Linked DNA regions of Homo sapiens: regions 1, 3 and 4 are each linked to region 2. Evidence: promoter capture Hi-C in human tissues and cell types (Jung and others, 2019). All regions are on one chromosome and are shown on one strand. Each heading gives the region's core, a stretch centred on a gene start or on the middle of the fragment in contact. The rest is flanking DNA. Distances are from core to core; before and after follow the strand shown. Region 1 has its middle 14 kb from the start of LINC02580. Region 2 holds the start of THADA (THADA armadillo repeat containing). Region 3 overlaps LRPPRC (leucine rich pentatricopeptide repeat containing). Region 4 overlaps THADA (THADA armadillo repeat containing).

The links. Contacts are between HindIII fragments. The study calls those that stand out against the background at their distance.
Region 1: a fragment that was not itself captured here is called in contact with the fragment with the promoter of THADA in region 2 in 1 of the 25 tissues and cell types used here (lymphoblastoid cells).
Region 3: a contact is called between a fragment that was not itself captured here and the fragment with the promoter of THADA in region 2, in 2 of the 25 tissues and cell types used here (dorsolateral prefrontal cortex and mesenchymal stem cells).
Region 4: a contact is called between a fragment that was not itself captured here and the fragment with the promoter of THADA in region 2, in 1 of the 25 tissues and cell types used here (lymphoblastoid cells).

Annotation. Positions count from the first base shown.
Region 1 is chr2:43,113,404-43,120,310 of GRCh38, reverse strand. No RefSeq gene overlaps it. Among named protein-coding and RNA genes, the nearest start is that of LINC02580, 14 kb to the right of the region's middle. The HindIII fragment of the contact is 5,622 bases long and covers 1,487-6,907 here.
Region 2 is chr2:43,589,706-43,597,530 of GRCh38, reverse strand. THADA (THADA armadillo repeat containing) reads left to right here and starts at 1,493. Exons shown (of 38, transcript NM_022065.5): 1 at 1,493-1,600; 2 at 5,115-5,214; 3 at 5,485-5,579; 4 at 6,577-6,707. The coding sequence starts at 5,139. The HindIII fragment of the contact is 9,276 bases long and covers 1-6,366 here.
Region 3 is chr2:43,933,024-43,940,845 of GRCh38, reverse strand. LRPPRC (leucine rich pentatricopeptide repeat containing) reads left to right here. Exons shown (of 38, transcript NM_133259.4): 24 at 5,968-6,092; 25 at 6,550-6,656. Among named protein-coding and RNA genes, the nearest start is that of LRPPRC, 59 kb to the left of the region's middle. The HindIII fragment of the contact is 4,461 bases long and covers 1-3,659 here.
Region 4 is chr2:43,227,959-43,235,527 of GRCh38, reverse strand. THADA (THADA armadillo repeat containing) reads left to right here. Exons shown (of 38, transcript NM_022065.5): 37 at 2,646-2,815; 38 at 4,185-4,677. The coding sequence ends at 4,580. LINC01126 (long intergenic non-protein coding RNA 1126) reads right to left here. Exons shown (of 1, transcript NR_027251.1): 1 at 6,673-7,569. Among named protein-coding and RNA genes, the nearest start is that of LINC01126, 4.5 kb to the right of the region's middle. The HindIII fragment of the contact is 6,129 bases long and covers 1-4,903 here.

The DNA of each region.
Region 1 (6,907 bases), core at 3,048-5,547, 480 kb after region 2:
ACGGTGAAACCCCGTCTCTACTAAAAATACAAAAAATTAGCCGGGCGTGGTGGCAGGCCCCTGTAGTCCCAGCTACTCTGGAGGCTGAGGCAGGAGAATGGCGTGAACCCGGGAGGCAGAGCTTGCAGTGAGCCGAGATCATGCCACTGCACTCCAGCCTGGGTGACAGAGCGAGACTCCATCTCAAAAAATTATGTTAAAAAATGTATTAATATATGTATGAAAAGTATAAATATGTGACTACACTTATCATCATATGATAATCTGCCTTTACAAAATGGGACACTTTATCAGATGTCAGGAATTCATATTAGGGCTTGCTGAATGCATGAATGATGTTGAGAATTCTGTGATCTCTAACACATTTCAGAAGTGCTGTACTGGTCTGTGAGATACTTGAGGACAAGAGTCAGGAGTAGTGTCCCCTCATATCTTGGGGTGAACTGTTATATTGGTGGCTCCCAGTGAATAATATCTTTTGGCATTCATGCCCTTGTATCGTTGTCTTCCCCTCACGGGCTTGAGCATGTAACTTGCTGTGGACAATGTAACATTGATAAGCATGATGCAAGTATAGATCTAATAAGCACTTGCTTCTCCTCTTGCGGCTTGTTCTATTGGAATGCTCTCAAGGAATCTAGCCACCTAGCTGAAAAGAAGTGTGGGTAGATTCATGAATGATGAGACAGCACATGGAGACAGAGAGGCCATGTGGAGGAGCTAAGGCATCAGATATTTTAGTGCAGCCATTTTGGACTTTCTAGGCTAACTCAGTTGAATAAGTGGCACTAAGATGCCACCTGGAGCAGAAGAACCAACCAGCTGAGCCCTACCCAAATTCCTGATCCGCAAAATCATGAGAAATAATAAATCATTGCTGTTTTAAGCCACTACATTTTGGTGTGATTTGTTACACAGCAATAGATAACTGAGATACTAGTAATATGTGTGTAGTAAATGTGTATGAAATGACTGAATGGCAAATCACAATTCTAGCCCTGGTGCTAATCTCTTACATTGGTCTTGGATACTCATTAAGCCTTGATCACATCTATCTTCTGGTATGATTCCTATGATGGTTAATCTTATGTGTCAACTTGACTGGTTCATGAAGTGTCCAGATATTTGGTCAAACATTATTCTGGGTGTTTTATGAGGGTGTTTTTGAATGGGATTAACATTTAAATCTGTAGACTAAGTAAAGCAGATTGCCCTCCATGATGCAGGTGGGCCTCATCCAATCAGTTGAAAGTTTAAATAGAACAAAAGGTTGACCCTGCCCTAAATAAAAGAGAATTCTGCCTGACAAACCTAAAATTGGAACATCAGCTCTTCCTGATTCTGCAGTAGCCTGCTGGCCTTCACATGGAAACTGGGACATTGGCTCTACCGATTTTGAACTTGCCACCCTCCATAATTGCTTGAACCAATACCTCATACTCTCTCTCTCTCTCTCTCTCTCTCTCTCACACACACACACACACACACATGTTCCTTGACTTATGATGGGGATATATCTCAGTAAACCCATCGTAAGTTGAAAATATCATAAGTCAAAAATGTACTGAATACACCTAACCTACCAAACATCACAGCTTGGCCTGCCTAATGTAAATGTGCTCGGAACACTTACATTAGCCTACAGTTGGGCAAAAATCATCGGGCAATACAGTAAACTGTAGAATATCAGTTATTTAACCTCATAATTGTATGACTGACTGGGAGCTGCAGCTCACTGCTGCTGCCCAGCATCATGAGAGAATATCATACCACATACCGCTAGCCCAGGAAAAGATCCAAACTGAAAATTTGAAGAATGGTTTCTACTGAATGTGTATTGCTTTTGCACTATCATGAAGTGAAAAACATCATAATTCTGAACCATCATAAGTTGGGGACCATCTATGTATACATAGGAGATGTATATATCTCCTATAGGTTCTGTTTCTCCAGAGAACCCTGACTAATATAGATTTTGCTACCAAGAGTGGATGCTACTATAACAAATACCTAAAAATGTGGAAGTGGCTTTGGAATTAGGTAATGGGCAAAGACTGAAGAGTTTTGAGGTGCATGTTAGAAAAAGCCTAGAATGCCTTGAAGAGACTGTTGGTAGAAATACAAACATTAAACGTGATTCTGGTGAAGGCTCAGAAAGGAAAGAGTTGTAGAAAAAGTTTCTATCATCTAAGAGAATACATATATCATCATAAACAGAATGTTGGTAGAAATATGAACATTAAATGTACTTATGGTAAGGTCTCAGAAATGAGGAGCATGATGTTGGAAACTGGTAAAAAGGCAATCCTTGTTATAAAGTAGTAAAGAACTTGGCTGAATTGTGTTCAGTCAAGGTAAAACTTGGGAGTGATGACCTTGGATATTTAGCACAGGAGATTTCTAAGCAAAGTGGTGAAAGTGTAGCCTGGTTTCTCCTTACTGCTTATAATAAAATGCAAGAGGAAAGAGATAAGTTGAAGGAATTGTTATGCAAAAAGGAACCAGAATTTAAAGATTTGGAAATGCTCAGCCTGTCCATATTTCAAAAAGAGAGAAAACACGTTTCTCTGCTTGGTGCAAATACCAAAGGCCTGTCTGGACAATCACTCCATAAAAAGATTCCCACGAACTTAATCAACCATCTCAGTTGAAGCCAGGAATAGAGATGGGATTATATTAGCAGAAACACTTCCAGCTGGGACTAAAGAAAACAGAGAAAATGGAACAGAATGAAAGAAGGCTGTTGGACTTCTGGGATTCTACAGGACAGGACAATAGAGTTATCCAGCTTTGAACATACGTTATCCTTCAAGAAAAGGGAAGAATGACCCCTGAAGACAATTTGGAGATTATCAGGGCTGCCATTCACACCCCAGGCCCAGGGGCTTGGTTGTTTTTTCCTGCTTTCAGAGAGCGGGGCCACCTTCTTGGTTTCAGTGGGCCGAAATGTTGCCCAGTGCCTCAGGGGCAAGGTGACTAGCAGAGCTGCAGAATGGGATCTACCACCTAGGGTGGTGGGGGTGATGAAGCTGCCCCAGTGGGCACAGCATTCAGCCAAAGAGGATTATTCATTATTTTTTGTTTTTTTGAGACAGGGTCTCCTTCTGTCACCCAGGCTAGGATGCAGTGGTGTGATCATGGCTAACTGCAACCTTGACCTTCTGGGCTCAAGCAATCCTCCTGCCTCAGCACCCCTACCCCCGAGTAGCTGGGAATACAGGCATGCACCACCATACCTGGCTAATTTTTGTATTTTTTGTAGAGACAGAGTTTCGCCATGTTGCCCAGGATGGTCTTGGACTCCTGAGCTCAAGTAATCCTTCTGCCTTGGCCTCCCAAAGTGCTGGGACTACAGCCTAATGGATTGCAGATCTAATGGAATTTTCCTTGCTAGGTTTTGGATTTGTTTGGGATCCATTGCCCCTTTCTTCTTTCCAATTTCTCCCTTTTGGAATAAGGATGTCTATTCTATGCCTCCCCACCATCGTATTTTGGAAGCACATAAGCTTGTCTGGTTTCATAGGTTCACAGCTGGAGAGAATTTTGCCTCAGGATGAAACATACCTCAAGTCTCACCCATACCTGGTTTAGATATTCAGTGAGACTTTGGACTTGGAATTGATGTTGGAATGGGTTAAAACGTCTGGGGTTGCTGGGATGGGCTGAATGAATTTTGCATGAGAGAAGAACATGAATTTTATGGGGCCAGAGGATGGAATGTCTTGGAGTAAATTGTATCTCCCCACCAGATTCACATGTGAAAGCTCTGACTCCCAGTGTGACCCTATTTGGTGATAAGGCCTTTGAGGAAGTAATTAAGGTTAAATGAGGCTGAGTGTGGTGGCTCATGCCTGTAATCCCAGCACTTTGGGAGGCGGCAGGCAGATCACTTGAGGTCAAGGGTTCGAGACCAGCCTGGCCAACATGGCTAAACCCTGTTTCTACTAAAAATACAAAAATTAGCCGGGTGTGGTGGGGCTTGCCCATGGTCCCAGCTATTCAAGAGGCTGAGGTGGGAGAATCTCTTGAGCCCGGGAGGCAAAGGTTGCAGTGAGGTGAGATGGCGCCACTGCACTCCAGCCTGGATGACAGAGTGAGACTTCATCTCAAAAACAAACAAAACAAACAAACAAAAAAGGTTAAATGAGGTTCTCAGTGTGGGGTCCTAATCTGATAAATTGGTGTCCTTATAGAAAAGGAGGAAGCGCCACAGCCCTCCTCTCTGCATGCATGCCCCGAGGGAAGAGACTGTGAGAGGGCACAGTGAGAAGGAGCAATTCAAGGAGAGAGGCCTTATCAGAAACCAACTCTGCTGGCATTTTCTTTTTTTTTTTTTTGAGACAGAGTCTTACTCTGTCCCCGGGTTTGGAGTGCAGTGGTGTGAACTCAGCTCACTGCAACCTCTGCCTCCTGGGTTTAAGTGATTCTCCTTCCTCAGCCTCCCGAGTAGCTGGAATTACAGGTGCCCACCACACCTGGCTAATTTTTTTGTATTTTTTGGTAGAGATGGGGGTTTCACCTGTTGCCCAGGCTGGTCTTGAACTCCTAAACTCAAGTGATCCACCTGCCTCAGCCTCCCAAAGTGCTGTGATTACAGGCATGAGCCACCATATGTAGCCCCGTGCTGGCATTTTGATCTTGGACTTCCAGCCTCCAGAAGTGTGAGAAAACAAATTCCTGTTTAAGCCACTCAATCTGTGCTATTTTGTTACGGCAGCCCAAGCAGACAAATACAATTCCCCACAGCAATTTGCAGAGGAGTCATGAAGACTTAGATTTCAATTCTAGCTTTCACTGATTCATTCATTCAGCCAATATTCAAGTTCTGCTATGTGCTGGACACTGTGTCTACTGATTTCCACATCCACTGGGTTTCAATGGTGAGCAAAATGCACATGGTTCTCGTCCTGAAGGAGCTTAAAATCATGTAAGGGAGACATATTCCTCAAATAATTACTCGAAGAGACATAAAATAATAGCAGCAATGAGTGCTCTAGGAGGATGTCTCCTAGTCAAGAGGTCAGGGAAAAGTTTTTGAAGAAGTGACACCAGACCTGAGATACAAAAAGGGTGATTAGGAGTCAACCAGGTGAAGATGGGGAGGAAGGGTGTTCCATGCAGAAGAAACAGCATGTGCAAAGAATGCTTCTACCAAGGAGGAAGCTGGTGGGTGTTCAGGGGACTGGAAGAAGGCTGCCATGACTGAAACGGAGAGAGGAGGAGCAGAGTGGGAGGGGCTCGAGAAGAGGCTGGATGGCACAGGCCGGGCAGACCATGCCCAGGTCTTTGTCATAAGAGCAGTGGGAAGCCATTGAGCTGGCTTAACCTGGGAGTTGGCATGGCTAGATTTGCATTTCCAAAAAGGTGCTCGAGGCTGCCATGGGGGTGAGCGTGGTGGAGTGGAAGAAGACTAGCATGGGGACTGGCAAGGATGCTCCTGCAGGATTCAGGAGAGGCATGCGGGGGCCTTGGACTAGGGTGGTGGCAACAGACATGGAGGAAAGGGCAAGATTGGAGAATGATTTATTAAGGCAAAAAACCGGACTTTGGTGCCCAATTGTCTATAGGAGGTGAGGACAAGAGAGGAGCAGGGATGACCTGAGGTTTCTGGGTTGAGTAGCCAGGTGGGTGGTGGTGCCATCTGATTATAGAGAGATGATGGGGAAGACCAAGTTAGGGCTGGGGGCCACTACTTACCAATTGCATGAACTTGGACAGGTTACTTTTAAGCCCCTATATGCTTCAGTTTGCCCATCTGAGATAAGTGATGTGAGATGATATTTGTAGAGGATCTGCTCAGAGCAGCTGCTCCTGCATATCAAGCTTCCTGATCTTTTCCTCTGTGAAGTAGCCTGGGCAGATGCTATTGTTCCATTTTTAAGGTTGAGGAAGCTGAGTCTGCAAGATTGGAATCTTGCCCAAATCCACATACTTTGAAACCAGGCTTATAGGCAGGTGGTGGGAGGAGCCTTCCCTCCCTGCCAGTCTGCCTTCAACATCAGCTCACAGAGCCTAAGAGCAGAAATTATTCATCCATAAGTTGCTCAGCCTTCACTGGAGGTCTGGTATGGGTGGGGAGGAGGGAACATTGTTCAGGTGAGAAATGCAATTAGGGGAGGGGACAGAGCAGTGTTGGAGTGAGCAGGGTGAAATTTAATTTTAAGCACCAAATTCATGTCGTAGCCAATTTCCCAAATGTGGGCTGCTCACAAAGTTTCTTTTTTCACTCACATAAAGGCTCAGATGCTGTGATTGGCAGGCAGCCTTCCTCTGAGTGGAGATTCAGGCACCCAGGCTCCTTCCACCTTATGGCTCTGCTGTCTCTAGGCCATGAGGTCAGGCAGCGGGGGAAAGAGAGGTGGATGAGGCACATCTGCCTAACATCCTTAGGCCAGAAGCGAGACACATTGTTTCTGCTCACACTCCACTGGCCACCCTGGATAGCAAGGGAGCTGGAACTGTAGTCTAGATGGGTGCCTAGGGAGAAGGGAAAGGGAGTTTTGGTGATAAGCTTCTCAGTCCTGCTGTAACAGGTCAGAGCTGATTTCTACATCCTAAATATTACATTCTGGAGCCTGGTAAAGAGAGACATATCTTCCTGGACAGGAACTTGAACTGCTCCAGGCCAGGCTCCCAGGGTCCATCTGGGACTAGGCCTTTTGGTCAAGGTGGAGGAGAGGGGACAGAAAGGCTGTCCAGGCTCTGCTGGGATTTCTCCAGGAGGGGACAGGACCAGCCTTGGGGTAAGCAAGCTGAAGGAACCAAGCTTGATCCCATGCACTGGCTGAATGGGTGGCAGGAAGGCTCCTTCTGGGTACACTTTTGTGAGCCACAGAAATAGCCTCTGGCCAAGGCCAATGGGGAATTTGTCCTAAGTTTCTGAAGAGAGTGGGCTGTGCAGAGCCAG
Region 2 (7,825 bases), core at 244-2,743:
TCACAGCTCCTGTAAAGTAGCATTTCAAGAAATTTTTACTTCAGTTATGTGTGAGTACTTCTACGTCCACAGTTTCAAAGTCTGCAATGTATTTCTTACTATGTCAGGGTCAAAAATACCAGAAAAAATTATGGTGGAGAACCGTCTGCACACACTCACCAGCTGACATGCACAACATAGTTCACAGCAGCAATGTTTAGAACAAAAACTGGAAATAATGCACATGTTAAGAGGCAGCAGGATGGATACATAATGAAGTATATTAAACAATGGAAAATTACGGTCCGGGCGCCATGGCTCACGCCTGTAATCCCAGCACTTTTGGAGACCGAGGCGGGCGAATCACGAGGTCAGGAGTTCAAGACCAGCATGAGCAACATGGTGAAACCCCGTCTCCACTAAAAAATACAAAAATTAGCTGAGCGTGGTGGCGCGCGCCTGTAATCCCGGTTACTTAGGAGGCTGAGGCAGGAGAATCACTTGAACCCGGGAGGCAGAGTTTGCAGTGAGCCGAGATCGCGCCACTGCACTCCAGCCTGGGCGAAGAGCACTACAGCCACCTGTAGGTGAATATGAAAAGCAATGCTGAAAGAAGCAAATTGCTGGAGAATACATACGCAATTCCAAAAGCTTCAAAATTGAACGAAACAAGATAGTGATACATACATTATGTGGTAAAGCTATAAAGAAAACCAAGGCAAGCTGATATAAAAAATTCAGAAAATAATTATTAAAAACTTAAGTCATTAACGTTTAGAGAACTGAAATGTCTCTATTTTCCAAATTAATACTCCTGATAATAGCATCAGGTCTTTCCTGATCTTGCCCACTGTCGCAGCTCCCAGTGACACCCCGTTATTGTATTTATTTTTCAAGGACTGAACCATCTGACAATTTGTATGTGCTGCGTAATACATGTATCCTCAGTAGGGGATAGCTTTCAAGGCTAGCGCTTGGCGACGCTCTGACAGTAGAGTTCATTATCTATTGAATGAATATATGCGCTTTGGCACACGTTGGTTCAGCACTACTCATTTTAGTCCGAATCCTTCTCGTGGCTTCCGTTCAGTCGCCGCCCAAACCCCTGCCCCATCTCGCAGGCTCTAAACTCCCTGGACTCGTTCCCGAGTCCCAGACGTAGTTTTCTCCTAGACTCTGCACTGGGCCAACAGAGTGGGAGAAAGGTGGAAGGTCTGGATTGGGAGAAAAGCGCTTCCCAGGCGTCCAAGCATGTGAAGAGAATGAGGTCTTTTCATTCAACAAGAGACCGTTGAATGAAGGCCCCTCAGCAACAAGGCCCGTCAGCCCTAACGCCATGAGGAACGCGCGGCGCTGACGGTACAGTGGCTGGTTAACTAAACCGGATTGCTACCGGCCACCCCGGTGACGTCACGACCTCCTCGAACTCCTGATTGGAGGAGCTGCGTTTGGTCAATTCTCGCGATGACTCCTCCAGGTTACCCCTCTCTCCCTCCCTTTGCCCTGACCCGGTAGTCGACCGTGGACCGCGCTGCGAGCCTCGGAGACGCCGTAGAAGGAGACCTGCTTCCGGGACTGGACCAGGCGCCTGCGACTCTTCTCAGACGCCGACGTGCACGAGGTTTGGCTCCCAGGTGTCCTGCCTGCCAGACCCGCGGTAGCTCGGCTCGGCCAGTTTTGCTAGGGCTGCCTGGCGAGCCACACCAATTCCCATCCTTTGGTATCGCCAGGATTCGGCGGCTGTGAAACTGATTTCCGGTCGCTAAGGTCTCCATGGAGACAGCACTTTAACCACTTTCTCCCACTGTCATTCCTCGACTCCACGTGGTTCAGAAATCGCCCAGAGAATGTTTGTGGGAGTCAGCCAGGAAGGTGTAGAGTGAAGCAGCGTTCTAAAGGGAAGCAGTAAGTGGGACCTAGGAGGAGTGTAATTTACTGGGCACCTTCTGGCCTTGCGGTAGACACGGGATTTACCCCCTTGGGGACCCTGGTTCTTCAGGACACACGTTTAGGCATCATTTGAGCAGGCATAATTACCGAGTCTGCTTTTGTGTAGCCCTCAGAATTGCAAGAGCAAATCCTCCTGCAAACTTGCTTACCTTTCACCAGAGAATAGTCTCCCTAGTTAGGTTTCCCAGTCTCTTCTGGCTTTGTACGATGGTCACTTTCTTAGGAAGCGTGCCTCTATTCCTCTAGATCTGACTATCCCTTTACAAATTATTCTGTTGTCGACACTTTCCTAGCTGCGTCCATTTTTGGTTAAGTGGTTGCTCACCTGCCATTACTGTATGGATTTCTTACTTCCCAAACAGACCATAGGTTCTTAAGATGTAGAATGTCACTTAGATGTAGAATGCATTTTAGGTACCAGATAGTCCACCTTCCTGCCCTTAAAGACATATATCCCTTCTAGAACATCTCTGACAAATGTTTGTTAATTAATTTGTTTATTCGTGAAGTGTTTGTTAAACACCTACTATGTGCCAGGCACTGGTTTGGAAATTGAGACTTGAAACATGAACAAAATAGATTAAAGTTGCTGCCTTCATTCAGTTTGCTACTAGGTGAGACAGACAATATACAAATTTACAAGTTAGGGTAATTTCTGGTACTAGTAAGTGCTATGAAGAAAATTAACGGAAATGGTGTCTACGTGTGTTGTATTGGTGAGATTTTAGATAGAGTGGTCATGGAAGGCTTTTAGAAGGTAATGTTGCAGCAGAAACATGAATGGTGAGAAGGAGTCAGTCTTGCAAAGATGTGGAATGAACATTAAGGGGCAGAGATACTGAGAAGTGTAAAGCCTCTTAGGTGGGAATAAGAGCATCAGGAAGTACAAAGCTCTTGAGATGGTGAAGAGGAGATTGGTTTGAGATGAAGAGTGGAGGAAGGCAGGGTCAGATTATTTAGGGCCTTGAAGGGCAAAATCTCAAGTATTTATTTATTTATTTATTTATTTATTTATTTGAGATGGAGTTTCGCTCTTGTCTCCCAGGCTGGAGTGCAGTGGCACGATCTCGGCTCACTGCAACCTCTGCCTCCTGGGTTCAAGCCATTCTCCTGCCTCAGCCTCCGGAGTAGCTGGGGTTATAGGCGCCTGCCACCACACCCGGCTAATTTTTGTATTTTTAGTTAGTGCAGACGGGGTTTCACCATGTTGGCCAGGCTGGTCTTGAACTCCTGACTTCAGGAGATCCACCCGCCTCGGCCTCCCAAAGTGCTGGGATTACAGGCACGAGCCCCCACTCCTGGCCTCAAGTTTGAATTTTATTCTAAGTGTATTTAGAAACCCTTGGAAAGTTTTAAGGAAGAGAGTAAGTAATTCAATTTGATGAGAGTTTTTTTTAAAGAGATTGCTTTGATGATTGTAAACAGAATGGGCTCTTTGGAGGTAAGTGTAGAAGTCAGGAGACCAGTTAGGGAGCTGTTTCAGGAGTCCAAGAGAAAATATTCAGTCATCTTCTCTTTGAATATTCCTGGTGTTGGAAAATTTCTTTGTTTAAAAGGTAGCCCAGTCCTTAGTGGGACCATAGAGCTTTTCCTTTGTATTGATCTGGAATCTGTTTCCCTGTAGCTTGTACTGACTTTTACTAATCTAATAGCAAGACAAGAAGTCTAAGGCTGGGCGCGGTGGCTCACGCCTGTAATCCCAGCACTTTGGGGGGCCGAGGTGGGTGGATCACGAGGTCAGGAGATCGAGACCATCCTGGCTAACATGATGAAACCCCGTCTCTACTAAAAATAGAAAAAATTAGCCGGGCGTGGTGGCGGGCGCCTGTAGTCCCAGCTACTCGGGAGGCTGAGGCAGGAGAATGGCCTGAACCCAGGAGGCTGAGCTTGCAGTGAGCGCAGATCGCGCCACTGCACTCCAGCATGGGCGAAGGAGCAAGACTCCGTCTCAAAAAAAAAAAAAAAAAAAAAGTCTGTAGTAGACAAATAAATCTATTCCCTTTTTCTCCAAAACAGTCTAGCAGCTGTTTTAAGGCTCTTGTTCTGTTGACTTTTTCTCCAGGCCAAACACCTTTGGTTAACTGAGCTGTTCTCTGAAGGAGGTGCTCTCTAGGTCCTTCAGAAATAGTTCCATTGTTTGTTATGGCTCCTTAGAGTATGGCCGCCAGCGCTGTACCTAATGCTCTACATGTCACCTGGCCTGTTTGAATAAAATCATGCACTCTGATATGGCTGACTTCTGTGGTTTTTGGCAGTCATCTTGGGCTGTTGAGCTGTTTCAAACCACGTTTTGCCTCTCCAGCCTCTCTTTCTGTGTTTTTTTCCCCTAAACTAAATGCAGCCCTTTGTATTTATTTCTGTTTCATCTTGGTAAATTTCATATTGCTCGTTATTCCAGTTTATTGACCTGTTTTTATTCCTGATTCCATCATTCAACATGTCCTTCCAGATTTATTTTATACATGTACTACATTATAGTCTCTAATATTTGCATCATAAATACTGCTAAAGATGCTAACTGCATCAAGAGAAGAGCCCTATGACATTTCCCTAGCAACTTCTTTCCAGATGGCATGGTACTATTAGTGTGTAGTTGTGTAGTCTCTGAGTTGGGTTGTTTAGCCTGTTATGAACCCGTTGATTTGTTAAGTATCGATAAAAGCAAACTCAAGAGAATAGCATTAAAAAAATATTTTTTTTCATTTTTGCAGAAATCAGGACACGGTAGTACCTCCTCTTAGTCTAATGAGTCACTGAGGTTAGTTTGAAGTATTTTATCTTTGGAAAAACTATCCCAGTTTTTTTGTGTGTATGTTCACTAAAAGGAAAGTTTGCTGTATTTTAAAATACAAAGACTGAGTCATAGTAGGTAAAATAACTTCAGTCAGTAATAAGCTTCAGCTTAAAACATTTTTCTTCTTCAAATCAGAAATTCTTAGACAGTGATTCTCATTCTGGAGCAGTTTTGCTCCCCAGGGGACACTTCACAGTGTTTGGAGACATATTTTGGTTGTCAGAACTTGGGAGGGAGGAGGGTGCCACTGGCATCTAGTGGGTAGAGATGGGGATGCATGAAACATAATGCATAGGATGATACTGTTCAACAAAGAATGAACCCAGCCAAAAATCATAGTGCTGAGGTTGAGAAACCTTACATTAATGCCTTAAAGTCTTCTTTCTTGCAGTGACTACTATTAATTCTATTTAAAATGGGTGTAAAGAAGAAGAAAGAAATGCAAGTTGCTGCGCTGACCATTTGCCATCAGGACCTTGAAACTTTGAAATGTAGGTGACTTCTGGTTTCCCTTATTATATTTTTTTCTAGTTTGCAAGCAGAGTATTTTAATGACTGGGACCCCTAGCATATAATATTCAAATTCTTTATATTTTTCCTTATGTTTTGGATGTAAAACAATTTTCTTAAAATTCTGTCTTCAGACTATGTTCCACCTATTGCTATGGTTTATAATTAAAAAATTTTGTAGAATGCACAACAAAGGCAAAGTTAACTCACTGTTAAATCATTGAAAATTTTTTTTTGTATATGTTATATAGCTTTTGCTGATGTGGAAGGGAAAAATCTAGCTTCTTTGCTGTTACATTGTGTGCAACTCACGGATGGAGTGTCACAAATCCATTATATTAAACAGGTAAGTCTGAATTGATATTCATGGATGCATCTTTAAGAGTATCATGCTATTAAGGATTTAAAAAAAATCACTGACAGTTTTTGGTCCCTAATTATTGCATATCAGTTTATCATTAGCAAATAAGTATTTTTTTTTTTCTGTTTATTGTATAATATCCTTGTATTCAAAGCAGCAATAGAAGCCATATTCAGACTTCTATCATAATTGAACTGTAAACAGATAAGGTAGAAGATAATGTGCATACCTCTTTTGTGGAGATAAATTTTAAAATATATGAATCTTCAAAACTTTTTAGCAGACACATTTAAAAGTTAATTTAAAATATAAAGATTATACTTATTAGTATTTCAGTATTAGGATTTACCATTTGAGCACACATAGTTTTTTTTTTTGGAAAGCAAGTAAATGTATTACTGGTTTTTTAATAGTGCTACAGCTGTTCTTTACTGTAAGCCATTAACAGGTCTGTGATTCTCTGTGGAGGTGGGTCTGGAGGGTAAAGAGGGAGGTGGGGACATGAGTTTAAAAAGTTAATAAATAGTGAAATAGGTGTTTAAATCAGTATCCTTGACAGTGGAGTATGGAAAACATTTCACGTAATTGACACTTTGTTTTATTTATTTTTTTGAGATAGGGTCTCACTCTCTTACCCAGGCTGGAGTGCACTGGTGTGATCTTGGCTCAACCACAGCCTCAACCTCCTGGGCTCAAGCAATCCTCCTGCCTCAGCCCCCTGAGTAGCTGGGACTACAGGCATGTGCCACCATGCCTGGCTAATTTTTGTATTTTTTTGTAGAGACAGGGTTTCACCATGTTGCCCGAGCTTGTCTCGAACTCTCCTGGGCTCAAGCGATCTGCCCACCTCAGCCTCCCAAAGTGTTGGGATTACAGGGGTGAGCCACTGTACCCAGCAATTGAGACTTCAAAGAGTATCTGTAACCATGTTACTTTGCTATATTTGATATTATAAAAATTACTTCAATGTTTTGTATTATAGATTGTGCCTCTGCTGGAGAAAGCAGATAAAAATGGCATGTGTGATCCCACTATTCAAAGTTGTTTGGATATCTTAGCAGGCATTTATCTTTCTTTGAGTCTAAAGAATCCCTTGAAGAAAGTATTGGCAAGGTAAGAAAAAAAGGAAGGGAAGTTGGGTGTTATAAATGTTGAATTTGACCAAAAGTAACTGAAGTTCCTTCCTTGGTTTGATAAAACTGAACTGATACAGATCACAAAAAGTTCATTCATATGGTTTGTTCTCTGTTTCATTGATTAGTTACAACTATTTTTTTTTTTTTTTTTTTTTTGAGACGGAGTCTAGCTCTGTCGCCCAGGCTGGAGTGCAGTGGTGCGATCTTGGCTCACTGTCAGCTCTGCCTCCCGGGTTCACGCCATTCTCCTGCCTCAGCCACCACACCCGGCTAATTTTTTGTGTTTTTAGTAGAGATGTGGTTTCACCATGATAGCCAGGATGGTCTTGATCTCCTGACCTTGTGATCCGCCTTCTCAGCCTCCCAAAGTGATGGGATTACAGGTGTGAGCCACTGCGCCCAGCCTAGTTACAACTTTTTAAAAGTATAAAAAGCCTTCTTAGGTCACATGCTTAATAAACAGGCTGTGGGCTGTAGTTTGCTTACTCCTGCCTCAATCCATTTACATTTATTGGTTATGTTTAAATGTCATCTTGCTGTTTTTTCCTCTTTTTGTCCTATCTGTTCTTGGTTTAAATATATATTTACACAGATAACACAGGAATATAGGCTTGGTATAAAAATTTCAAATGATATAGAACTATACAAAATAAAAACTAAGGCTTCCATTTCATTGTTTAGGGCTTATCTTACTTTTCTTAGTAAAGATTGTCACTTACCGTTTTGGTATTTATCTTTCTAGACCTTCTCTTTGAGGTCAGCATATGTGTGTTACATTCTACTTTTTTTATATATATCTGTAAACGAGATTATACTCTACAGAATGCTCTGTAGCTTGTTTTTTCACTAAAGAATGTCTTAGAGATATTTCCATGTCATAAAATCCTAATTGTAGTAAAAGACATATAACATAAAAACTCAGTCTTAACCTTTTTTTTTTATGAATTCTTTTTTTTTAAATTTTAATTTTCATTTCGATAGGTTTTTGGGCAACAGGTGGTACTTGGTTACATGAATAAGTGGTGGTTTCTGAGATTTTGGTGCACACATCACCTGAGCAGTGTATACTGTACCCAACAATTTGTAGTCTTTTAT
Region 3 (7,822 bases), core at 180-2,679, 340 kb before region 2:
CCGTCACATTAAGGAAGAAAGAAATGCTTTAAAATAGGTTAAAAGAGTTTTTTATTAGTCTTCATGTTATGGTCAAGGAAATGAAATTAATAAAGTCTGGGCCATCAGATATTAAAGCATAAAAATTTGTATGATGCAGTTTCAGGTTCACTTGTTTTATACCTGATCCATTTTGGTTTCATTGCATGCATTAAAAAATAACTGAAGCTGTTTAACTGGATTATGTTGGTGCAAGTGATCAAAGCAGCTTTAATTTCTGCTTTCCATTAAGGATTTTTTTTGTGCTGGTTTGTGTTATAATCTGTATATGTACATATGCATTTCATTTAAGTGTGTCATGAACTTCATATATACTATCCTCCCAGAATTCTTGCTGAATTAATCTTGAGTTCATAAAGGTCACAATTTCTCTAAGATGAACTTGTAACAATGTTTTTGGAACTCACTGTAACACTTTAATATGTTACATAAATGGGAAATAGGCTTTTTAAAATGTTGATGATTCTGTTACACATGCTCCCCTTCAATTTTAGCATCTTCATTTGTACTGGATACTTTCATTATTTATGGGAATGCTTGCCTTCTAGAGTAAAACTCCTTATGTGCTGAAAGGAAATTAAGGAGGTTTGGCTCTTTTACTCCATTATTGCAATTAAGAATTTAGCATCATCAGTGCCAAAGGACAAAAAGTGGTTCATTTGCCCTAGGGGGACAGGACAGTGATAAGATGATTTTTCGTCAAGGATCATTGGGTCGTAATTAAGTTACATTCATGGCTATTGCTTTTTGAAGGATGATTGGTAAATGACAGGCTTCATGTGCTTAGTACGGACAGTGTGCAGTAGGGTTTTTTCTGCCTCTGTCAGAAAATCCTGTTGAGCCTGATAATGTAAATGTGGCATTTTATTCTGAACAAAAGAGCAGGGAAATGAGCTATCTTGTCTAATCATTCAGTTGTTTAACACCGACTTCCAGTTTAGACTCAATTGGCTGGAAAGCACTTGACATGTGAAGTTAGTGCTGTTCCGAACGCATGTTTGAGTAAATTTTAAAGTAAGTGACAGCTAAATTGTACCTAGGGAAATTACAAAGCCTTCAACACAGTTAATTTTTTGGGGAGGATTAGTTGTAATTGCAACACCAGTCTCCTTGAAGATTCCTCATTTATAGATGATGAACAGAAAAAAAACATTTAGCTCTTTCAAGTGCTGGTTCTCTTAACAGAATAATTTTTGTGAAGATGATGGTTTCTCTTGAATTGGTTTCTTCCCATATTGAACATCTGCTGAGGATTTGTAAGATAGTTTGTTTTTAAGGAGTTCAGTTTGGTTTTTGTTTGTTTGTTTTTTCTTTTTTAAACTTTTTTCTCCCCCCACAGCCCTTCTTTTCTGTAGTGATTGCAGATTTGAGCGCATTTCAGTAAGGAAGCCTGTTACATAAATTGCCACTTCACTAACAATGTATAAGTTTAAAGTACTTTATTCCAAATAAAAAAAATCAATATTTGTCATCTTTCGTTTTTTGTTGTTGTTGTTGTTTTTATTTTTATTTTTATTTTTATTTTTTTGAGACGGAGTCTTGCTGTCTCCCAGGCTGGAGTGCAGTGGCACGATCTTGGCTCACTGCAAGCTCCGCCTCCTGGGTTGATGCCATTCTCCTGCCTCAGCCTCCCGAGTAGCTGGGACTACAGGTGCTCACCGCCACGCCAGCTATTTTTTTTTTTTTTTTTGTATTTTTAGTGGAGACGGGGTTTCACCATGTTAGCCAGGATGGTCTCGATCTCCTGACCGCGTGATCCACCCACCTCAGCCTCCCAAAGTGCTGGGATTACAGGCGTGAGCCACCGCGCCCGGCCATCTTTCTTTTGTTGTTTAAGTATACTCTCTGGGATTAGAAAGTTACTTAGTATAAATTACGAGACTTAAGTTTAAAGCTACTAATAGATAAATAGATAGTTGTCACTCGTGGTTGTTTTAACAATTCCAGATTGTATGAAATACATTTATGATTTTTACAGGTATATGTATTGAGGAATGTATATGAGTTTTAGGAGTACATGTTTCTTGGTATCTCAAAGTAGATAGTTTTATGATTGGTGGATGTCCCATAGAAATGTCTGTCCAGCAAACTTACATGCTACATGGTGTTTGTTTTTCTGTCAGTGACGTTATAGCATACTTCAGTTTCAGAATGAGGACTCAAATGAGTGGTACTATCAGATTTGCCATCGGAGCTTCAAGCTTATTTATCGGGATGTTCTTCCGTGTAATAATGAAAAAATTGTAGTTTGTAGTAGCTCTTTGTAGTCATGTTCCCTTAAGAAGTGAATTCTAGATTCTAGAATGAATTTTGATGCAGGCCAAGTGAGTCTATTCAAGTTAATGAATTTAACTCTATTTTAAGTTTCCAAATTTCTTGCTGGACCCAGCCTATCTCATATATATGTTCTTAAAATTTAAAATTACAGAATCTTTTCCTCAATTTTACCTTTATTTCATAGACTTACAGAATTTTGGTAAAGCTTATATTTTTAATTTGCACCAAACAAAATACTGCTTTTTAAAATGATTGCTTACTTTTTATTAGTGTACGTAGTTTTATGCATGAAAATTATGTAGTCTATTGAAATTTTGAGGGGGGTGTCTTGATTTTTTTTTTTATAAAGGGTAATAGTATGCTACAGAGTTGATTTTCTTTTAGTGTCATTTGTGAAAGCATTGACTAAATTTTTATTAGGAGTGAGCCTTTAAATATTTGTATGTGAAGCTTTAGGAATTATGCATATATGCTGATACAAGCATGGGCTCAAAGTTTTGAATGCAAAATTAATGTGTCAACATTAATTTCTTCAGAGGATTATTGTTATTTCTTAGCAGGATTTAAATCATTTCTAGTGCTCAAAGAAATTCACAGATCACTTTGGGTCACAGAAGCTAGAAGTAGACTGATTGGTAATGTGTTGTCCCACATTTTGGTTGTAAAGCAATTTTTACCTTTCTCCTTTTGATATTGTGCTTCCCTTACTGATTTCATCCTGCCTAATAAAAGTGGTATTTTCACCTGATGATTTTCTCTGCTTGTGCAAAACACTTTAGATGAACCTAATAAGCACAGAGTCATAGAACCTGTTAGAACTAGGAGGGAACCCAAATGTCCTTGAGTTCAGCTGTTGTGATAATTTGCTTTTCATCACCACTTCTAGAAATGTATCACGTTGCTACAGCTGAGTAGCATAAGTACTCTTATCAGTTGGGATGGAAATCCAAAGTCCTATGACTACATAGCTATCTTCATAGCAATGCAAATTTTAGGTGCTTTTAAACATATTTTTCATTTCCGTCATCACCTAAGTTTTCAAGCTTTATTATGAAAGATTAATAGTGACATAAATTATGTGGGGAATGTAAATTTTTGTCTTTTAAAATGACATGATCCAACCACAAGTCCGAATTAGATAATAGGGACTGAAGAACTGACTAGTCATTTACTTTGTTTTTATCTCCAGTACACTTTGTATGAGGTATTTCATTATAAATTTCTAATTCATTTTGTTGGCATCCTAAGAGCAGTAACATTGGTTCTTAAAATTACTGACAAATATATGAATTATTTCCATTTTGCCATTCTTGTTTTTTCTGTTGTTGTTCTGAACATGTATAATCTTCAGAAGCATATATTTGGAGACCAAAGACTATTAACGTGTCGCTTTGATTGACAGAACAATTATTCATTCATTTATTGATAGCTTTGACCTAATGTAGGGGGAAATACAATTGAGACAATACTATTCTAGTTTGGGAATTGATCTGGAAAAGCAAATCATGCCACTTAAAAAAAAATCGTATGTGTGTTAGCTTTGCTCTTAAAAAATGTTTTAGTAGTTTTTCGTTAAGCAGAGTTATAGAAAGGCAATAACCGAACCTGTGTCTGAAGTAAGGGAAAATACTGATTATATAAAGCTTTATATCATATGTGGTAGCTACTGTACCATTTCTCTTCTATGACAGTAATCCAGCCTGCAACATCTACTTGCAGTTTGAAATTAACCTGTAATTTAGTCTTCACCCCAAATGACAAAAATTCAAATGACTCTGTGGGGTGCCAGAAGATGCACTGTAAACAGGGCTTAGTAAGGGGATAAGGTAAGAGTTCCATCAGGATAGGCTCGTTTTCACTGTGTCACTATTATTGCAATAAAACTAACATTTCTTCGTTGTCTTTTACTTTTTTAGTACAGCTTAAAATCAGATCTTGATAAAATAGTAATTCAACTTAGGGCAATGTAACATTTGTATAATAGGCAAAAATGTGAAGGCTTTAACAGGAAGTATAAAAGGACTTTCTGGTTTTGAAAACTGTTATGTGTATGAGAAATTTATATTCTCTACAAAGATTTTCACTAATTGTCACTAGTTGTACTTGGAGCCATGTCTCTAACCATGCCTCTTTTTAAAATACCTTTCATACTCTCTTTTCATAAATCGTTAATTTCTTATTCCAAATTGCACCACTTTATTACATTATTCAAATACCAGTGCTTTTAATAAAGCATAATGTGTAATTAGATGTACTGAACTGACAATGGGAAGTCCAGCGACTTGCTTACCTAGTACCTTCCTCTGTTTACCTGGTAGCCTTAGTCAAATCAGCCAGTCTCTAGATGCCCCAGTTTCATTATTTCTTTGAAAGTAAAAGGGGGTGGCAAGTAGAATTGGATCATATAATCTCTATAGTTCTTCCAAGGGATTTCTTTTTTTTTTTTGAAACAGAGTTTCACTTTTGTTGCCCAGGCTGGAGTGCAATGGCACGATCTCAGCTCACTGCAACCTCCACCTCCCGGGTTCAAGGGATTCTCCCTCCTCAGCCCCCCGAGTAGCTGGGATTACAGGCATGCGCCATCACGCCCGGCTAATTTTATATTTTTAATAGAGATGGGGTTTCTCCACCTCAGGTGATCCGCCCTCCTTGGCCTCCCAAAGTGCTGGGATTACAGGCATGAGCCACCGCACCTGGTCTTGCAAGGTCTTAAATATTTCTCATACTAACATTGTCCTTTTATTTTATTTTTTTTATATTACCTGTGAATTTTATTTCAGTATGGTAAGAGAGAAATTACAAAAAAACTTTTAATAAAGACAGGGTTAAAGTAAATTGAAAGCAAATTGTCCTTTTATGGGGGGAAAATACTTCTTAAGGACCCACAAGAATATAGTACCACACTGTTGTTTAAGAAACTGATTTAATGACAGTGTCTTTTTATTTTAATTTCTCACATAAAAGAAGGCTTGACTTTGTAATTGGAAATAATTTTTAAAAGCTTACCCTTTAATGAAAAAAGTATTTAGAATTCTTCTAGAATTCACTGACCAACACGAATATCCTAGTTTTCATAATAGTAAGTTCCCATATATATGAAACTTGAGGTTATTTCCTACTTGGCTAGTAAGGTGACAGTACAGAAAATATTATGATAAAGATGAAAAAGTTCTTGAAAATTCCTTATTAGCTATTGGTGGACATTTAATAACGTTTACCAAATCTGAAATTATTGAGATACAATTGTTAAAGGCACGTAAGTGATTGGAAAAAAGTATTTGACGGTAGTCCTTGCTTTCAGAAGTAATACATTCTTACAGCAACTTTCTACATAAAGTCAGAATTTACAGTAAAATCAGAGAATGCCTTAATCTATTTGGACTTTTTTATAAAGTACCCTTTAACACACGAAATAATAAAAGATGAAGCAGGGTAAATAGTGGATTGCTGATGATGTATGTTTTCTGAACATTTACTTATATATAAAGATTGTTTCTTTTTTTCCCCCATTTTAGCTTTGTGGTTTTCTACCTTAAGTAAAGCTCAGTTGTTTACATATTAACTGGTCATTAAACATCTCTCTAAAGTATTACTAAGAGACTAAGCTGAATTCGATTTATTTTATTCATTGCTAATTTTTTTGTTTCTAAGGGGCGACCTATCTACTGCTCTTGAGGTCGCCATTGACTGCTATGAAAAGTATAAAGTATTACCAAGGATTCATGATGTCTTGTGTAAACTGGTAGAGAAAGGCGAGACTGATCTAATTCAGAAAGGTGAGTCACTTTCTAGTATCTTAATGTAGTTTTTTTTTCCCTTCTTGCTGATTTAATCTTAGTGTATTGTTAAGAGAAACCAGCAGAAGGCCAGCACATTCAGATAAACTTTCTTTATACTTGTGAAATCTAAAAGAAAAATATCAGGTAGATTTCCAATATTATACATGTTCTTGATTTTAGTAACTGTTCATTTTGAAAAAATGTCTGTTATTTTTGTGTTCTAATTCTTGGTGATCTGCCTTTATGAAGATTTTTTTTACCCTTATCCTCACTAGTTCTCTTTGTAGCTACTCTGTTAGGTACTTAATTAGTCGATATAGCTATATTCTTTAAGTTATTCTTAATATTTGTTTTTAAAATAAATTTTTCTTGTATTTGTCTGGAACTTCATATGATACTGTTTTTCTGGGTTTTTTTTTCTCCTAATATATATATTTTTTTCTCTCCTACCTAGCAATGGACTTTGTGAGCCAAGAACAAGGTGAAATGGTGATGCTCTATGATCTCTTCTTTGCCTTCCTACAAACAGGAAATTACAAAGAGGCCAAGAAGATCATTGAGGTGTGATTTTAACTACAGTGTTCTAATTGTAGAGCTATTTAGACTCTTAATTAGAATACATTTAAAAATTTTAACCTTTAATTACACTTGTTCTGATTCATGTTAATAGAATTCAATCCCAGTAATGTTGGGGGAGGGGGATCTCGGCCAGCTTCTTTATTGTATATAATTACAGTTCAGAAAAGGCAGTCTGGTTGTATATTAAATTTGTTTCCTCACTTTGTTAAATTCACTATTATATATCAAAATGATATTTGCATATTAAATCTTGGATTGTGGAACAATTAAATTAAACTGGCATTCCTGGGTGTAAAGTTGCTAATCCTCTTTGCCAAAGAATTCTTTGTTCTTAAAAGCAGTGGAATTTAATTTGCTGCAGACCATGCTCAAGATTTATTTGTAATGCTTGTCTACAAGTTAATCAGCCAAACAAGTGCTGTCTGCAACTGTTTGGCATTTAATTTAAATTTTCTTCTTCTTTTTTTTTCCACTATGCTAAGCAGCTTATGGGAAATGGTAGGTGACAAACCTGGCCTATTTAGGATTAGTATATTTTATCTAGGCTTTACTAAATTTTGCTTAGTGGAATTGATAAGTCAAGGGCCAACTATAAAGTCTGTCCAAATTGTGATTAATTTCACTATTAAACAATTCTGTGTCCACTAAGAAAACAAAACATTCCGCAGAAGATGGACCCATTGCCTTAAGAAAAATTATTTCATGTGATTAAAACTGTTAACTTATAAATACATCAGTAATCATGGGTTTTCTCAGATTATACTTCGCTTTTGGTCAATGTCGTTTTCCAAAAATATACAGGGGACAGGATGCAAAAGTGGTGTTTGACCTCTTTATTTGTGTATTGATGACTGCTTATCATGAAACTGAAAATATAGGCACACAACCCAGAAAACTGTATTTTTTTCCTCCTGATGTTTTTTGAAGAAGAGAACGGTGTAGTATAGAAAAGGAGGACTGTGAAATCAATTCAGAACTTTCTTCTCTTTCCATTTTATGACTCAATCTGCCCACTTGTCAGCAGACAGTGGGGCATGCTATCGTGCTATCTTGGACAGGTGCTTCTGTAGCTTAAGTGGTTCATTTACATTTTCTAGAAAATGGTATAATTTTTCTTCCACATTCGCTTCTGAAAGTACAGTGAATCC
Region 4 (7,569 bases), core at 590-3,089, 360 kb after region 2:
TGAGGTCAGGAGTTCGAGATCAGCCTGACTAACATGGAGAAACCCCGTCTCTACTAAAAATACAAAATTAGCCGGGTGTGGTGGCGCATGCCTGTAATCCCAGCTACTTGGGAGGCTGAGGCAGGAGAATCTCTTAAACCTGGGAAGCGGAGGTCGCGGTGAGCCGAGATGGTGCCACTGCACTCCAGCCTGGGCAACAAGAGCGAAACTCTGTCTCAAGACAAAACAACAACAACAAAAAAGTGATAAGCTGGGCACAGTGGTTCATGCCTGTAATCCCAGCGCATTGGAAGGCTGAGGCGGGTGAATCACTTGAGGTCAGGAGTTCAAGACTAGCCTGGCCAACATGGTGAAACCCCATCTCTACTAAAAATACAAAAATTAGCCAGCCATGGTGGCAGGAGCCTGTAATCCCAGTTACTCAGGAGGCCGAGGCAGGAGAATCGCTTGAACCCGGGAGGTGGAGGTTGCAGTGAGCTGAGATCACGCCACTGCACACAAGCCTGGGCAATACAGCAAGACTCAGTCTGAGAAAAAAAAAAAGAGTGATAAACCCACTGGGTGCAGCGGCTCATACCTGTAATCCCAGCACTTTGGAAGGCTGAGGTGGGTAGATCACTTGAGGTCAGGAGTTTGAGACCAGCCGGGCCAACATGGTGAAACCCAGTCTCTACAAAAAATACAAAAATTAGCTGGGCAAAAACAAAATTATCTGGGTGTGGTGGCACATGCCTATAGTCCCAGCTACTTGGGGGCTAAGGCAGGAGAATTGCTTGAACCCAGGAGGCGGAGGTTGCAGTGAGCCAAGATCACGCCACTGTACTCCAGCCTGGGCAACAGACTCTGTCTCAATCAATCAATAAAAGTTGAAGGGAAAAAAGAAAGAAAAAGGCCACTTAATTATCCCTTCTCTATACAGATTCTCAGCCAATTGAGAACTGCAGAAAGGAGTTAGGTAGAGGTAAAAATGGAGATTGTATTGTAGGTAGAGGCCCAGTCAACACATGGCTCAGACCCACAGCCAAAATGCACCTTCACCCCCTCCCCTTTTCTGTTTCCTGGTTTAAATCTGGGTTCTAGGCTGCAGAGCAAGCAGCATGGGGAACGGGGACACTAAAGGGCAAGTGTCCTGGGGGACTTATCTGGAGCTCTCAAGATGGTGAGATCAGTACTTTCACCTGCTTACATGCAACTAGGTGCTGCTGTGTGACCTCTGAATAGTCCTGGCCCTACTGCAGGGTCACTACCCCTGCTGACCCCACCATCAAAACCTCTGGATTGTTGATGCTGGGTCTCCAAATCTGCGCTTTGCATGCACCATGAAACTTGTTGCCAACTGTAATTTCTTGATGTGTGCAAGTGGGTTACATAATACCCAACCCATAGGATGCTAGAAGGACTGGGGAGACAGCATTTGATCAGGGCCTGGCACTCACTAGGCCCTCAGTGGGGCCATCCCAGTAAGCCTGGTTCAACACCCACGGGAACTAAGCCTGCTGTTGCAGATTCTCGGTCGTCTGCCTGTGTGCCGAGTAAGTCTTTCGGGGGCCAGATGGTCAGGGTAAGTCTGTGTGCTCAAGTTAGAGATGTGGATTTGGGAGTGATCAGGGCTCAATAGAAATGCATCATTGAAAGACAGGCCTTTCAATGTCAGTTGGTGCAAGATGGGCCTACAGAGGTCCATTGTGCAGTGGGCTTTCAGTCCCGTGTTTCAGACACCCTCCAGGTTTGGGATGGGAGGGGCAGAGTTGTTAGGGGAAGTGACAACACCCCTGAGCCTCCCTCCAAACCCATATTTAGGATTGTCTAAGGCCAAATGTTGAAATAAGCAATGGTTTCCCCAAGGCCCCCTGCTTCCTCTTTCTGCACCCTTCTATTCTTTCAGTGCCCTTCCTCCAAGCACCCAGGAAAACAAGGGTCCAAAAACAAAAAACTCCGAGACAGAGGGCAGCAAAATAGGAGCCAAATGCAGCCTACCACCTGCTTTTTACAGCCCATGAGCTATCAATGGTTTTTACATTTTTAATTGGTTGGGAAAAAATAATATTTTGTGACACATTAAATTCAAATTTCAGTGTCCATAAATAAAGTTTTATTGGAACACAGCCACAACCATTTGTTTACAGATTGTCCATGGCTGCTTTCAGCCGAGGTGAGGAGGTATAGGCTTGCAAAGTCTAAAATATTGACTCTCTGGCCCTTTAAGGAAAAGCTTGCCGATGCCCTGCTCTAGGATGTGTCTTGTGCCCAAGAGATCTGCTTTCCAAGGAAAGGGCAAACCAGTCAAATCCAGGCAGATGTGCAGAGGAGACACTGGACAGGGAAGCCTTCCTGATCCTTCTGGTGACACTGGAGGAGCAGAGGGGAGATAACTCTCTAATCCTGCAGATGGAACTGCTTCTGTCCACACTGAGTTAGGGGGCATGGAAACAGTGGGTTCAGGCCTATGACTCATTCTAACAGTATAAATAGCAGGATTCAGAAGGTGATTAATCGTCTCCAGTGAGCCCACCCTACCAGCTTCCCTGCCAGGCTGGTGGCAGCGATTTTACCTGAGGCCTTTATTGTTCCCAGGGTCCTGCAGGCTGCCCTGGGGTCGGCCCTGAGCAGTATATTCATTGCTCACCTTTCTCCTGTCTTTGCAGAGTTTGCCTTCTGCCAGGTGGATGCCTCCATCGCTCTGGCCCTGGCCCTGGCCGTCCTGTGTGATCTGCTCCAGCAGTGGGACCAGTTGGCCCCTGGACTGCCCATCCTGCTGGGATGGCTGTTGGGAGAGAGTGATGACCTCGTGGCCTGTGTGGAGAGCATGCATCAGGTGATCCCGGGGTGTCAGGGGAGTAGGAGGCAGGGTTGGAGTGTCCTAAACCCGCTAGATGCAGCACCTACAGCCTCAGCTGGGCTTTTGCATGCTTAGACACAGAGCAGGAACCACTAGGAAAGTCACCCACTGGGTGCTGCCGAGGACACGGGGACACTCTTAGGCTGACTTCTGGGGTGCTGATGGTCAGCCTCCAGCTTAGCCAGGGGAGAGAACTCGGAAAGAAGCCCCTGGCCGGGCACAGCGGCTCATGCTTGTAATCCCAGCACTTTGGGAGGCCAAGGCAGGCGGATCATGAGGTCAGGAGATCGAGACCATCCTGGCTAACACGGTGAAACCCCGTCTCTACTAAAAATACAAAAAATTAGCCGGGCATGGTGGTGGGTGCCTGTAGTCCCAGCTACTCGGGAGGCTGAGGCAGGAGAATGGCGTGAACCTGGGAGGCGGAGGTTGCAGTGAGCCGAGATTGCACCACTGCACTCCAGCCTGGGCAACAGAGCAAGACTCCATCTCAAAAAAAAAAGAAAAGAAAAGAAAAGAAAAAAAGAAGCCCCTGGATGCGGAGAGTTTTATTATGGAGACTGCTTGTTAGTCAGTATTGGAGTTAGCCTGGGGCTTCCCAAAGTTAGGTCTGAGGGTGAAGCATTTTCAGAGAATTAGGATCTTTGCTGGGAACTTCCTGCTTGAAGAAAACTATTATTAGCCCCCTCCAGGGTGGGTGCAGTCACAGATAGGGAAACTGAGGACAAAGACAAGCAGCAAAAGCATCCTGAGAACTGAAATTGATCGCCACCAGCATCTGACTCAGCTGGCCTTCTTGGCATCCCCAGCAGGCCAAGGGTTCAAAACGCATTGTCCCTCTTTATGAGAAATTTGGAGACATGGTAAGTGTCTGACAAAAGGACCTTGAGAATCACAGTGTTATAGAAACAGGACACAGCCTAGTGTCCTGTGTTTGGAGATTCCTTCCTCTCTGGCCTGCTGCAGAGATGACCTTTCCTCCCTCCTCTCCAATTTCCAGCTGCACCTTAAACTCTAGAGCCCACTCCCTTGTTGAAGTCCCCTTTTCAGCATCCATCCCCCAAAGTATCTTGACTTTGAACCACAAACACATCTTTATCCAAGGTCATGTTAAGTCTGGGGAAAAAATTCCTCTCTGGTGGAGAAATACAGTGAGTGAAAATAGAAGGTGACCTTCAAGGCTGCAAGTGGTGTGTGTACATGGATGTTGACAGGCAAGAGTGCACCCTCTGTCAGGTGGGGGAAGGGAAACCCCTCTTGCATCTGGCAGGGTACTGCTTGGTCTGGACTGGGGCTTGTCACCATTCCCTGTAAGACTGACTTTCGGCTTTTTCATCTGATTTAGGTGGAAGAAGACTACCTGTTTGAAAAAGCAGAAGTCAACTTTTGGGCCGAGACCCTGATCTTTGTGAAATACCTCTGCAAGCACCTCTTCTGTCTCCTCTCAAAGTCCGGCTGGCGTCCCCCAAGCCCTGAGATGCTCTGTCACCTTCAAAGGATGGTGTCAGAGCAGTGCCACCTCCTGTCTCAGTTCTTCAGAGAGCTTCCACCAGCTGCTGAGTTTGTGAAGACAGTGGAGTTCACAAGACTACGCATTCAAGAGGAAAGGACTTTGGCTTGCTTGAGGCTGCTGGCCTTTTTGGAAGGAAAGGAAGGGGAAGACACCCTAGTTCTCAGTGTTTGGGACTCTTATGCAGAATCGAGGCAGTTAACTCTTCCAAGAACAGAAGCGGCATGTTGAAGAAAATCTGGGGGATTGGGATGGGGGTATGTGTGGATTTTTCCTCCACTAAATCTGCAGGAAACATGTTGAACATAAATTCAAAAATTTTATCCCATTCATGCCTCCCCTACTTCTGTGAGTCCAGTCGTCTGTCACTCCTTACAGAGAAACTTTTCTTCAGTTCACTCATTCAGGGCAGCCTATTTTATTGCTGCTACTGTAGGAAGTGAGGCGACTCCGTTGCAGATTTACTCTGTCCCCAGGTGCAGGCCACCTGCAGGCCTGAATGAGCCTTTTTCATCCCCCAGGGCCTCTAATGCCCTGCCATAGCCGCCCTGCATTCTCTGTGAAATGACTACAGAGAGTTGGATTTTAGCACATACACATGATCCCTCCCCTCTCCCCTTTTCTGGCTTTATGTAGGGGCTGGATTAGTTGGCAAACAGCCCATTTGGTCAGATTTGTGAATTTTGTTCCATTTTAGCAAAGCAGAAATATGTTCCAAATGTTGGATCCTGGGAGAATTCAGGATCAACTTTGCACAAATAATTTATTTTTATTGTCTGCATGTGTTAAGTCCTGCAGTGACCTACACATTCCATCCTAATTATTCAAAGAGCCATTGAGCATTTCCCCTACCCCCCAAAAAGTATGCTAATGCTAGGAAACCTGATTTTGCCACCCAGTGAAAGTATATCCGTCCTCTTAGCTGTGAGGAGGAACCTGGGGAAAGGAGAGTCAGAGAAAATGACTTATTCTGTGCCTACATTGTTTACCTATCGCTTGGTGGCAGTAACAAGTGTCTCACTTAAAATGCCATTAAACACATTTATCAGCTGGGCGCGGTGTTTCACACCTGTAATCCCAGCATGTTGGGAGGCTGAGGCGGGTGGATCACAAGGTCAGGAGTTCAAGACCAGCCTGGTCAAGATGGTGAAACCCCCGTCTCTACAAAAAATGCAAAAAAAATTAGCTGGGCGTGGTGGTGGGCGCCTGTAATCCCAGCCACTCGGGAGGCTGAGGCAGAGAATTGCTTGAACCCGGGAAGCGGAGGTTGCAGTGAGCCGAGATCGCACCACTGCACTCCAGCCTGGGCGACAGAGTGAGACTCGTCTCAAACACTCAAACACACACACACACACACACTCTCACTCTCTCTCTCTCTCTCTCACATCCTTTGCAGTGATTTTAATCTAGAAACCTTAATGATTTTCTTCCTTTTCAAGCCCAGCCCAGCCCTCTTCCTCACACATCCAGCAGGTGGCGCTCTTGCAAACGTTTTGCTGCTGGTCCAGTTTTTCACTGGCTCACCATTTTTCATTTATAATTTCAGAATAAGTGTTACCCACTAATAGTTATCTTGAGAATCATAGCTTTGGAAGGGTAGTAGCTTCATCCGCATTCATTTTTCATCCTACTGATCTGAAAAAAACATTTCATAGTATGTAAATTTGCTCCAGATTTTAGGGTCTGTAAAAAAAAAAAAGTACTCAGGTAAATGATCACTTAGAGTAATTTCATTGATGTTTCACAGAGTCTGAAGGGGCGGGTTAGAGGAGAGTGAGTTTACAATCATTTCCTACTGCAGAAAAGCTCATATTTCAAATGTAATTCATCGCTCTTCGAGAGAAAACCATCTAACACTAAAAATGCAGCTGTAAGCCAGGCATGATGGTGCACACTTGTAATCCCAGCTACTCAGGAGGCTGAGGTGGGAGGATCGCCCAGGAGTTCATGCCTGTGAAAGGCCACTGCACTCCAGCCTGAGTAACACAGCAAGACCCCATCACTAAAAGAAAGGAATTTAAGAACAAAAAAGCAGCCATACTGGAAGTATAGGAAAGGGGCTTTGTAGGAAGAGGCAGGAAAGAAGTTAACTCAGTGTCCAAAGTTTTGTCCTAAAGAGAACAGGAAATTCCCTGGGTGGTTTTGCAACCACTCGGCCCCAAATGTGGTTTTTGTGATCCTGAATTAATTACCTAGTTAGGAAACTGTGTAGCCCACACCTGATGGAAAGCTGCCAACCTAACACTTTTTGTTCTAAGACCTAGCTGGTGAGAAGTGAGGGACTTGGTAAAATAAATGTGGTGATAACCACAGAAAAATAATAATGAAACTGGCCCAACAAAGCCCAGCTCATTGGAAATGGCCAGCACTTCTTTTTTTCTCCATTTAAAATGAAATAAAAGCAGCTACATTAGACATTTTATACTAGCAGGTACTCTGTACACAAGCATGTCCCGTAACATGTCCACATGTTATCTCCAGAATCCTAATCTGCAAAGTGGGTGTTCTCACAGCTGTTGACTGGGACTCACCCCAGATTTGGACGTTGTTTCAAACAGATGTTTCCACTGGTTCTGTATCTGAAATCTTGTTACTAACCTAATAGGAGTGCCTAGGGAAGTGGCTGTTTCACAGTTTGGTGAGATGTTTGGGGTCATCTCACCAAAGAACAAACCAGACCACAGTTGCCCAGGTATGTCAAGGGGTCAGTGTAGGGTAGGTGCTAAAAGTGAAACTGGTCCCTCTGAGGTCACCTGCTCTTGGCTGTGAGTCCTAGGGTCCAGGACTTGGGTGCCCCCACAGCTCTGCACTCATGATTCTGTGGCTCTCTGTCCATCTGGCCACAGTTCAGAAGCCAGGCTTTCTCCACCCTTACGCTTTTGTCAATTTGGTTTAATACATAAAGATGGTTTAGTTCTTGCTTGTCTTTTAAACACCTTCACAGATATCATTTGCACCTTGCCAAAGGTGAGAGATGAATAAAGCAAGAATATTATCTTCGTTTAACAAGGAAACCCAAGTACCAAAGAGATGATGTGATTTGCCTAAGACCACATGATTTCTCTGGGGCAGGACCTGAACTCCAGCCCAGCATTCCTGATCCTTACCCTGGACTCTGGCTCCCTGGGCCATGAGGGGAGTACAGTAGTGGGAAATGCAGGATACACTCCAGGGACTCGAATCCCTGAGTGGCAGGCCTAGTTCTTTCCCCAGCGGGTCC